Linked DNA regions of Homo sapiens: region 1 is linked to region 2. Evidence: promoter capture Hi-C in 16 types of primary human blood cells and fetal thymus (Javierre and others, 2016). All regions are on one chromosome and are shown on one strand. Each heading gives the region's core, a stretch centred on a gene start or on the middle of the fragment in contact. The rest is flanking DNA. Distances are from core to core; before and after follow the strand shown. Region 1 overlaps RASA3 (RAS p21 protein activator 3). Region 2 holds the start of CDC16 (cell division cycle 16).

Region 1 (5,235 bases), core at 851-3,350, 200 kb before region 2:
AAAAAACCTTCGAGTTCCTTCAAAAATATATCAGACACCTAGCCAGCCTTGAGTGGTAAATCACCTAACAAGCAAAATAAATAATAAAATAATAGCCAAAAAATTAGTCAGGAGATATTTATTCCCTATACAAGTTAAAAATAGCATCTTAACATATGTCCCTAAATTGTTTTTCAAAAACCGAGACCCTCACCAAACAGATCTACCAACACAGACCACAAATGCAGGGGGGATCACAGGCCCGAACCCTGAACCCGGCTCTATTCTGAATTTCTTCCTCAGGGGCCAGGAGGGGTCATGCCTGTGGGCCAGAGCCAACATTCTTTTCTGCTGATCTCAATTGTTTGGACAAAGCTTCTCCTCCTTAACCAATCACAAATCAAAAACGCTCTATATCCGACCCATGGGCCACACGTCGTGATGTCTGCCTTCTCAGGTCAAACTGACATACGGCCTCCATGTACTGATTTATGACTTTGCCACAACCTCAGCCTCCCCACCTTCTGAAACCCTTGCCTGTGAACCCTCGGGGTGCCTGGGTCGTGGGCGCAGCCTGCCCTGCCAGGGTGCACACCCCGAAGCCCCTGGTCAGGGAGTGGAACATAAAGCCCTTCAGCCCTCACTTGACACCGCGTCGGTGCAGCCCCACGGCACCCCCACACTTGATACTATGCCCCACGGCACCCCCACACTTGGCACCACGTTCCACGGCACCCCCACACTGACAACACGTCCCACGGCACCCCTACACTTGACACCACGTTCCATGGCACCCCCACACTGACACCACGCCCCACGGCACCCCCACACTGACACCACGCCCCACGGCACCCCCACACTGACACCACGCCCCACGGCACCCCCACACTTGATACCACGTTCCACGGCACCCCCACACTGACACCACACCCCACAGCACCCCCACACTTGATACCATGCCCCACAGCACCCCCACACTTGACACCACGTTCCACGGCACCCCCACACTGACACCACACCCCAAAGCACCCCCACACTTGATACCATGTTCCACGGCACCCCCACACTTGATACCACGTTCCACGGCACCCCCACACTGACACCACACCCCACAGCACCCCCACACTTGATACCATGCCCCACAGCACCCCCACACTTGACACCACGTTCCACGGAACCCCCGCACTGACACCACACCCCACGGCACCCCCACACTGACACCACGCCCCACGGCACCCCCACACTGACACCACGCCCCACAGCACCCCCACACTTGACACCACGTTCCACGGCACCCCCACACTTGACACCACGTTCCATGGCACCCCCACACTGACAACACGCCCCACGGCACCCCCACACTTGATACCACGTTCCACGGCACCCCCACACTGACACCACACCCCACAGCACCCCTACACTTGACACCACGTTCCATGGCACCCCCACACTTCATACCATGTTCCACGGCACCCCCACACTGACACCACGCCCCACGGCACCCCCACACTGACACCACGCCCCACGGCACCCCCACACTGACACCACGCCCCACGGCACCCCCACACTGACACCACGCCCCACGGCACCCCCGCACTGACACCACGTTCCACGGCACCCCACACTTCATACCACGTTCCACGGCACCCCCACACTTGACACCACGCCCCACGGAACCCCCACACTTGACACCACGTTCCACGGCACCCCCACACTGACACCACGCCCCACGGCACCCCCACACTTGACCCAGCGCTCACAGGGGGAATGGAACTGGGTCTGTGCTGCCCAGGCAGGTGTGGGAGGTGGGGCCTCCGCTGCTGTCCTGAGACTCTGGGGTCTGGAGGTTGGGTGTGGCCTTCCCGCCCTGTGGCTGCAGCCCCAGAGCAGGTCCTGAGGGGCCACAAGGATGTTGGGCCGGGAAGGTGGGCATGAACCCCACGCCAGCACTGTGGGCGGGGAAAACAGGTGCCTAAAATGACAACAAAGACCCCACCAAGACCACAGCTCCTCTTCCCACACCCATCAGAGCTCAGGGCTGAGCGGAGTATCGCCTGTGGTCCTCACCGCCTGGCAGCGGGCCTGCTATCCGTGGCTATCCATGGGCTAAAGGAGTGCCCTGAACACCAGCCGGGCAGTGGGCCTGCTATCCGTGGCTATCCACGGGCTAAAGGAGTGCCCTGAACACCAGCCGGGCACTGGGCCTGCTATCCGTGGCTATCCACGGGCTAAAGGAGTGGCCTGACCACCAAAGACAGGAGAAAGTGCCTGACCCAAGAATAACCAAGAATCCCCACTGCTTCATCCCCGTTCTCAAATGCCGGGCGCAAACTCTCTCAGGACAGAAGCGTTCAGATTTGCAAGGCTGTGCAGACGGAGGTAGCTCTATTCACATTCGGGAGCTTCAGGAAGAGTCACGACTGCATGTGGGGGGTCCTGGTCCCCAGCAGCAGGCTGTGTGGCCCCCGTGTGCTCTCCCGGCCCCTGGCAGCAGGCTGTGCGGCCCCCGTGTGCTCTCCCGGCTCCTGGCCGGGTCCAGGGGCACCTGGCTGGTCACCATCAGGTCCTGAGGCTGCTCCTGTTCCTGCAGCATGAATCCCTCCTGACCAGCTGACTTGTGTGCTTTCGTCTTCTGCTGATTCAGGAGTGGGAACAAACAAAACCCACCCCTGGAAGGCCCTTTCTCCTGCCAGAAAAGCCAATGAGTAAATCTGCAGGTGCTGGCGCAGGCTGGAGAATCCCAGACATTTAGAGGTTAAACAACACAGTTCTAAATAACACACAGATCAGAGAACGCAAGACAAATTTTAAAATGTTCCGGAATAAACAGAAATGAAAGTGTTACTCATCAAAATCAGTGGGATGAAGCGGGAGCCGTGCTCGGGGTGGAGGGGAATCTGGAGTGCCGGCCACACAGACTAGAGCAGAAGGGAGATCTGAACGCTGACCTGAGCTTAGAGCAGAAGGGAGATCTGAACGCTGACCTGAGCTTAGAGCAGAAGGGAGATCTGAACGCTGACCTGAGCTTAGAGCAGAAGGGAGAGCTGAACGCTGACCTGAGCTTAGAGCAGAAGGGAGATCTGAACGCTGACCTGAGCTTAGAGCAGAAGGGAGATCTGAACGCTGACCTGAGCTTAGAGCTGGGAGACTGAGAAAAATGAGTAAACTAAACCCAGAGCCCAAGAACAGAAAACAGAAGTCAGATCGGAAACCAATAGGTAAAAATCAAAGCCAACGGCAAATTCCTTGAGAGATCAATAAAATTAATAAACCTCAAACCAGGCTACTAAGAGCAAAAGGGAAAAGGCACAAATTCCCACAGGAAAGGAACGAGAGGACCTGGCTGCCGACCCTGGCACCTGCCTGGACGCTGCACTGAGGTCCCTGGCGCTGCACTCCTGCGAACTCACAGACGCAGCAAAGGGGCCCCAGCGTCCAGCTCCTGACAACGTGTGGCTGCAGTGTCACCCATGGGGCCCTGGGCGGGGGCTGCTGAGGGGTGTATGGAAACTCTGTACTCTGCTCAATTTCCCTGTGAACACAGAACTGCCCCCAAAACAGAGTTAATTAATTTTTAAAAAGCAGCCAATGGTCCCTATCCATCTTTCTCAGGAAGGCCTTCCCCAGGGAGAGAGCAGCGCGCAGAGCCGGGTCAGGGTCCTGGCCCCACCCACCGGTTGCCGTGTCCCCCACTGAGCGGGCAGCGGCCCAGAGAGCAGCCAGGACAGAGGTGCCTTGGATGCAGGACTGTTCCACGCCGGCCGCAGAGAGGAGACGAAGTCCGCGGGCAGATGAGACAGGATGCAGAGGCCATGAGGAAGGAAGCCCAGCCTCGGCCGTCTCCTCTTACAACCCTGGAGAGATGTGAAAGCTTGACGACGGACGGTGACTTTGTTTGCTCCGAAAATCCTTCCAAGAGGACTGTCTGCTGCACAAACACAAAATTCCCAGAGGCTGTAGCAGGAGGCTGGAATTTCCAGCCCAGTGAGATTTCACGGTGCAACTGGAAGGCTCCAAGGGGGAAACACGTAGGTGTCTCTTGGGCGGATGGCAGACCCAGGGGTTTGCTGTGATCCCCTGCAGGGCTGTGCTATTTTCTGAATACGTCACAGATGCACTTGAAAGCCTGGTTTATAAACGGAGCTCAGTGACCCCCAGGCGCCCAGATCACCGCGGATGCCTCGCTGTCACAGGCGGTGCCCTCGCTGGCATCTGACGCTGGCATCTCCCCCACTGGCATCTGACGCTGGCGTCTCCCCCGCTGGCCCTGCATCAGGGGAGGGTCAGAGAGCACAACTCTGCATAATAAAGTGATTTAACAAAGACTTTCCAACAGTGGCCGTTCCAGAAGGAAGCAAGAAAGGTTTAATTGTGTTTCCCCCATTTCTGTGACTCACTTGCTGGCCTCCCCCATGGGCTGCTTCTGTGACACTCGCTGTCCGGACACAGGACTGTTCCTGGGAATCACAGAGCGGAGGGACTCATGGAGCCACATGGCTACCCCCTGCCTTCCTGAAAATGGTCACTGTGACATCTTATGATGAAACGGCGGCTCCTGAGACTGGAGTTGTGGGGTTTTTTTTCTTCTTCTTCTTCTTTTTTTGAGATGGAGTTTCACTCTTGTTGCCCAGGCTGGAGTGCAATGGCGCGATCTCAGCTCACAGCAACCTCCGCCTCCCGGGTTCAAGCGATTCTCCTGCCTCAACCTCCGGAGTAGCTGGGATTACAGGCATGCGCCACCACGCCCGGCTAATTTTGTATTTTCAGTAGAGACGGGGTTTCACCATGTTGGTCAGGCTGGTCTCAAACACCTGACCTCAGGTGATCCACCCGCCTCGGCCTCCCAAAGTGCTGGAATTACAAGCATGAGCCACCGCGCCCAGCCTGGAGTTGAGGTTTTAAAGGTTGGCTGGAGTCCAGCAGGGCCACTGCTCCCTGTCACGCTACGTTTTGGGCGGCGTTGGGGCTGACTGCATCAGTGAAGCAACGCATTGGAGAGCAGCGGGCATTGGAGAGCAATGACCTTGCCTCCTCCCTTTTAGACAACAGCTCGCATTTGCCTTCCATAAAGTGCAAATTCCCGGGAGACTGACACCACTCGGTTCAGGATCCTCATGTTCCGGACAGTGAGAGTCAGGCTTGGAGGACGCTGGGCTTGGCCACGGGTACGCAGCCTCGGGCGTTAATTATGAGATTCCACCAGCTGTGAGATCAACCTGCGGCATTCTTATTTACAGCTTTGTGGAGATGCAACGT
Region 2 (5,532 bases), core at 1,522-4,021:
GAGAACAGGCTAATACAGAAAATTGGTACTGAAAAGTGGGGCATTCGTATGAAGATACCTGAAAATGCGGAAATAACTTTGGAACTGGGTAATGGGCAGAGGTTGGAAAAATGTGGGGGGCTCAGAAGAAGACAAGAAGATGGGGGAAAATTTGGAACTTCCTAGAGACTTTTAAATTGTTGTGACCCAAATGCTGATAGTGATATGGAGAGATGGGCAGGCTGATAAGGTCTCAGATAGAGATGAGAAACTTACTAGGAACTGAAGCAAAGGTCACTTTTGCTGTGCATTAGCAAAGAACCTGGCAGCATTGTGCCCCTGCTCTAGGGATCTCTGGAACTTTGAACTTGAGAGTGATGAGTTAGGGTATCTGGCAGAGGACTCCTGAAAGTGATTTCTGTTAAATCTCGCCCTGGCAATATTAATTACAAATTTACCTTCCAGGTACAAAACAAGGACAAGATGAGATTAGTCACTCTTCTGCCTACCCTGATATGGGCTACATAACTCTTTCCTCTACTCCCTCTTGTCAGATGTTTGCCTCATCTTATGTAAATTGTTGGTTTACTGAGCACTAATCAGAGCATCACTGTGGACCCCTCCCTTTTTTTCCTCCTGCTTGCCGTCTCCTCCTAAACACCCAGTCCCCATAACCCTATTTGGATGGCACAGTTGATGCTTCTGTGGCTTGCGTTTTTCCCGGGCCCATCATCAGACTTCTACTGATGGAGACATTTGCCTCAGTCACTCATTTTTGGTTAACTAGGAATCTCATTAAATGGATAGAAGTCGTTGAAAATATGGCTTAAAACACACCTCACCACATGCCTGCCCCAAGTTAATGAGCAGAGTTGATTACTGCCTGCTTGCAGAAGTGGGAAAGGAGGAGGAAAAGGAAATATACAGGGGGACAAATTTTTAAACACAACTTCAAAATATTACCCAGTCATATATGTATACACACACATAGAAAATTACACGGCAGATTACTTACAGTAGCGTGAGAGAATTTTTGAGTGGGTGGGATTCTTTACAGCAAGTTTTTTTTTTTTTGCTTCTTTGAATTTTTTTTACTCTTTTAGGTTTTTATATTTATAAAAGTTATATTTACTTTTTAAAAGTGTCAACCTTAATATTGAGATTCAGAAATATGATTACATATAGTGTGTATTTGAGCACAGAGCCTGAGAATGGCCACCTGGACAAATGGGGTCAGCCTTTCCAAGTGGAGCTCAGGTCTCTCTTACCAGGCGGAGACAGAAGCTCCAGCAGGATCACCACAGTTCTCATATGAGACCAGGGGCACACGCCGCAGCGGTTCCATTGGTTAGGGATCTCTGTATTTGAAGGAAGATTGCGTTATAACTCCATGAGGAGGGGTAGTGATCTGAGGGGGTCTTATCTCCGGTGCCATTTGGTCTTTATTGTTTACAGGGAAAAAGGCAGAAGTTACAGCTGGGTGTGGCATGACCTAGGCCGCGTAGCCACATTCCCCTCAAGGCTCAGGTAATTCAAAGTTCCAACAGCTTCAAGTTTAAATTATTTTAAGTTTGAATGATTTAATTTCACAAAAGGTAATATATGCACATTGACTGAAATTCAAAAGCACAAAAAGATATCCAAGGAAGTACCTCTCCCACTTCTACCATCTCTCATCTTCCAGCACTCCTTCCAGAGGCCTTGCGCTATGCCGGTTTTCTCATTTTTCCTTCCTGGGACAGTTTAGGGATTTTTCTACCTATCATTAAATTCGTATTTTACTCAAATGCAGGCATACGATAAACACGATCCTATACTTGCTTTTTCCCACATACTATATCTTGAAGATCGTTCAATGTCCATGCAAAGCTGACTGTTCTTTTGAACAGCCAGCGAGTATTCCATTACGTGAGCGTATCATGACCTATTTACTCAGTTCCATACTTCATGGGTGTTTAAATTGTCTGCAATCTTTTGCTATTACAAACGAAACCACAGGTCATTTTGCACACATGCAAAAATGCAAATCCATGGTATATTTCCCAAAATAAAAATCATTAGGTTTAACAGCACGAACACCTTTAAATTTGGAAGATATTCCAATTCGTTCATCCTAGAGAGTATACCAATACCACTCACAAAACTTGAGGGTGCCTGCTTCCCGACATTCCTGCTAGCAGTGTCATCAACCTTTGTGATCTTTGTTAACATATGAAAAGTGGTACTCTAATTTTAATTTTTATTATGAATTAAGTTGGACTTTCTTTCGTATGTTAAAGTCTATTTGCATTTCTTTCCCTGTGAACTGTTTTTTGCCTGTCTTTCTCCTGAGCCATTGGTCTCTTCCCACTGACTTATTACATATATGTAAAGGGAATATTGGCTCTACATTATAAGGAAATTCGAATTTTGTGATAGGTTTCAAATTTTTCCCTAGGTTGTCTTTGACTTCATTTGCTGTTTGTGCACACAATTTTTTTTTTTTGTAATGAGAGTGCGTTGCTCTTATTTTTAAAATGTTGACTACATTCTGGGGAAAGAAGGCTCAGCAGCCACCTGCTTTTTTGCCCGGGTGGGTGGTCCGGCCCCGAGCCCTCCTGACTCTCTCGCCAATGCCCAGAGGCGCCGCAGCGATTCCAGGGAGGCCGCGCTCTCGCCCCAAGGCAACCAGAAGCCCACGTGCCAGGAGAGGCATCGGAACCAACAACTCGGGTCCGTTTTCCCGCGCCAGATGGGATTCGTTTGCTGTGGACTTCCGGGGCGGGGCCTGCCTGGAGCGGAAGAGCCTGGGCAGTGCACGGGGCCTGGGTGGGGGGTGCGGGTGTGGGTGGGGACCTGCGGCCTTCGAGTCCGCGGCCTTCGAGTCCTGGGGCGGCGGCGGCGGCTGCAGGCACGGGCACGGGCACGGGGCGGGGTGCTTAGGGTGCAGGAGGCGCGCGCCTAGCGGCGGAGTGTGGCGTGAGGCCGGGCCCGCGCCGCCATGAACCTAGAGCGGCTGCGGAAGCGCGTCCGGCAGTACCTCGACCAGGTGGGCGGCCCCGACTCGGGGTGCGGGGCCCAGGCCTCGCCGGGTCTTTTTCCGCGCGGCGTGGGGCTGGGGTGACTGTTGTCGGGGCTCTTGGTGGGGAAGGACTGGGCCGGCCCTGGGCCTTCATCTGGGGCCAGCAGCGCTGTCTCCGCCTCGCCCAGAAGGGAGCGGTCCCTGCAGCTGGGAGGGGCACAGCCCGGGGAGTGGAGGCCCCCGAGCGCACGGGGCGCCTCAGTCGGGTCTGAGCCTCGTTCTGCACCTGGCGCGGAGGAGGTGCCCAGGAAACACTGACTACTCAGTGCAAGTTGAAGGACAATTTTTGGAGGAAAGTTGCAGGGCTAGCTAATAAAACATTTTTGAGAGGTTTAGTTGTAATTTTTACTGGGCTGAATTTAAGTGAATAAAGATGTGAAGAAGCCTGTTGTCTCAAATCAATACTTTAAAAATTCTCGTTAACTATGTCTGTGTTCTCTGCACTACCTTTGAATAGCAGAGAGCGTTTAAGGCAAGAAGTGTCTTCGAGAATCAGCAGCATCAGTTTTATCTATATTGTTGTTTATTTTTTGTTGAAATGCTTGCTCTTTCAGGAAATTGGAAAGAAAGGGAAAGAAAAGCCATGGTAATGCAGAGTTTTCGGAATTGGGTGCTAACTGACGTGGCCAAATGTTTGCAGTCCATTTGGAGGGCTGTGTTTTTATTTACCATGAGTCAGTTGAATTCAGTGTTTTCTGATCACTTTTTCTTCGGTACGGAGACGTAGTGAGGAATATGACAGGCCCGGTTTCCAGCCAGAGACACCGGTATTGAGCATATTTATAACTATCCCGTTGGCATTCCTCCTGCCTCGGGCTAGCAGCAGTGGTCCTGGCTTGTCTCCAGGGGAACTGAGGCAGAGACTGTAGAAGACTGAGGACTGAGGAGCAGAACAGGGTCTAAAGCTAGCCGTAGGTCACTGTGGGTGGCCCTCATTGTCGGCTCCTTCATTTTTGTTAGACTTGGAGGAGGTGAGTTCTTCCCCATGTTCAGTGAAGCTTAGTTAATTTATGTGTGTGTGTTTTTAAACTTGAGTGTTATTAAAACTGCCACTGTGTTATATAAGGTATTTGAGTATAGTGTTCTGTCTTCTAAATTTCACTTTGGGATTCATTAACAGCTCGTTGAAAGTGTTATATAAATCACACATGAATTGTTAATGACTAGCTTTTGCTGTTTCACTTGCATTTCACTTGTATGTTTCACGATACATTTTTACAGTGTATGAGTTTTAAAAAATTACCTTCATAAGTTGCATATACAAAGATATTACAGGAATGTTTGTATTGCGACACTGAACTAAAATTTACCCTACGTGAGATGTAAGATAGAGATGTAACAAATTGTTGTCTTGAGATGAAGATTTATTACATAGAATTATATTAATATATTACATAGAATTATAATAATATTAGATAACTGTTTAAGACTATTAAAATAACAGGGCAGTTACCACCTTTTTTTTTTTTTGGTATGCAGCAACAGTATCAAAGTGCTCTATTTTGGGCAGATAAAGTAGCTTCACTCTCTCGTGGTAAGTGACAAAATGCTAACTGGTTTTCTGATTAATCTTAAAATTCGTTTTCTATTTCACCTTGTACCTCTGACCACTTATGTGAATTTTTCCCTCCAGAAGAACCCCAGGACATCTATTGGTTGGCTCAGTGTCTTTACCTGACAGCACAATATCACAGAGCCGCCCATGCACTTCGGTCACGAAAACTGGACAAAGTAAGTGATGGTATGAACTTTAAAGCTCTTCAGAGCTTTAAAAAAAATGTCATTAGTGGCCGGGCGCGGTGGCTTACACCTGTAATCCCAGCGCTTTGGAAAGCCAAGGCAGGTGGATCATGAGGTCAGGAGCTCAAGACCAAGATGGTGAAACCCCATCTCCGCTAAAAATACAAAAATTAGCCGGACGTGGTGGCAGGCGCCTGTAATCCCAGCTACTCGGGAGGCTGAGGCAGAGAATTACTTGAACCTGGGAGGTGGAGGTTGCAGTGAGCTGAGTTCGTGCATTGCACTCCAGCCTGGACAACAGAGCAAGACTCTGTCTCAAAAAAAAAAAAAGTCATTAGGGTTTTAGGTGTATATTCCATTTCTGTTGAAATTATTTAACTTGATGCAATTTTTCTTTGTTTTTGTTTTTTTGAGGTCTCTCTGTGTCACCCAGGAGTGCAGTGGGATGATCGTGGCTCACTATAACCTCAGACTCCTGAGTTCAAGTGATCCTTCTGCCTCAGCCTCCCTAATAGCTGGGACTACAGGTGCATGCCACCACACCCAGCTAATTTTTAAATTTTTTTGGTAGAGACAGAGCCTCACTATGTTGCCCAGGCTAGTCTTGAACTCCTGGTCTCAAGCAGTCCTCCCGCCTTGGTCTCCCAAAGTGCTGGGATTATAGATGTGAGTCATCACAGTAGGCCCAGTTTTTTTTTAGTGAAAGTGAAGGGAAAATGTCTTATACCTAATCTGTCACCTTCTTTTTCCCC

What was found. Contacts are between HindIII fragments. The CHiCAGO score rates a contact against its expected background, and 5 or more counts as called.
Region 1: a fragment that was not itself captured here is called in contact with the fragment with the promoter of CDC16 in region 2 in 7 of 17 cell types (naive CD4 T cells, naive CD8 T cells, non-activated CD4 T cells and 4 more); the score reaches 9.3 in naive CD4 T cells.

The regions. Positions count from the first base shown.
Region 1 is chr13:114,031,973-114,037,207 of GRCh38, forward strand. The region is part of intron 4 of RASA3 (RAS p21 protein activator 3); the gene reads right to left. Among named protein-coding and RNA genes, the nearest start is that of C13orf46, 61 kb to the left of the region's middle. RefSeq lists enhancers at 1-160, 3,719-4,287, 4,218-5,235. The HindIII fragment of the contact is 3,496 bases long and covers 353-3,848 here.
Region 2 is chr13:114,232,126-114,237,657 of GRCh38, forward strand. CDC16 (cell division cycle 16) reads left to right here and starts at 2,772. Exons shown (of 18, transcript NM_001078645.3): 1 at 2,772-3,007; 2 at 4,520-4,574; 3 at 4,674-4,771. The coding sequence starts at 2,960. RefSeq lists an enhancer at 2,571-2,620 and a silencer at 2,731-3,090. The HindIII fragment of the contact is 7,021 bases long and covers 1-4,036 here.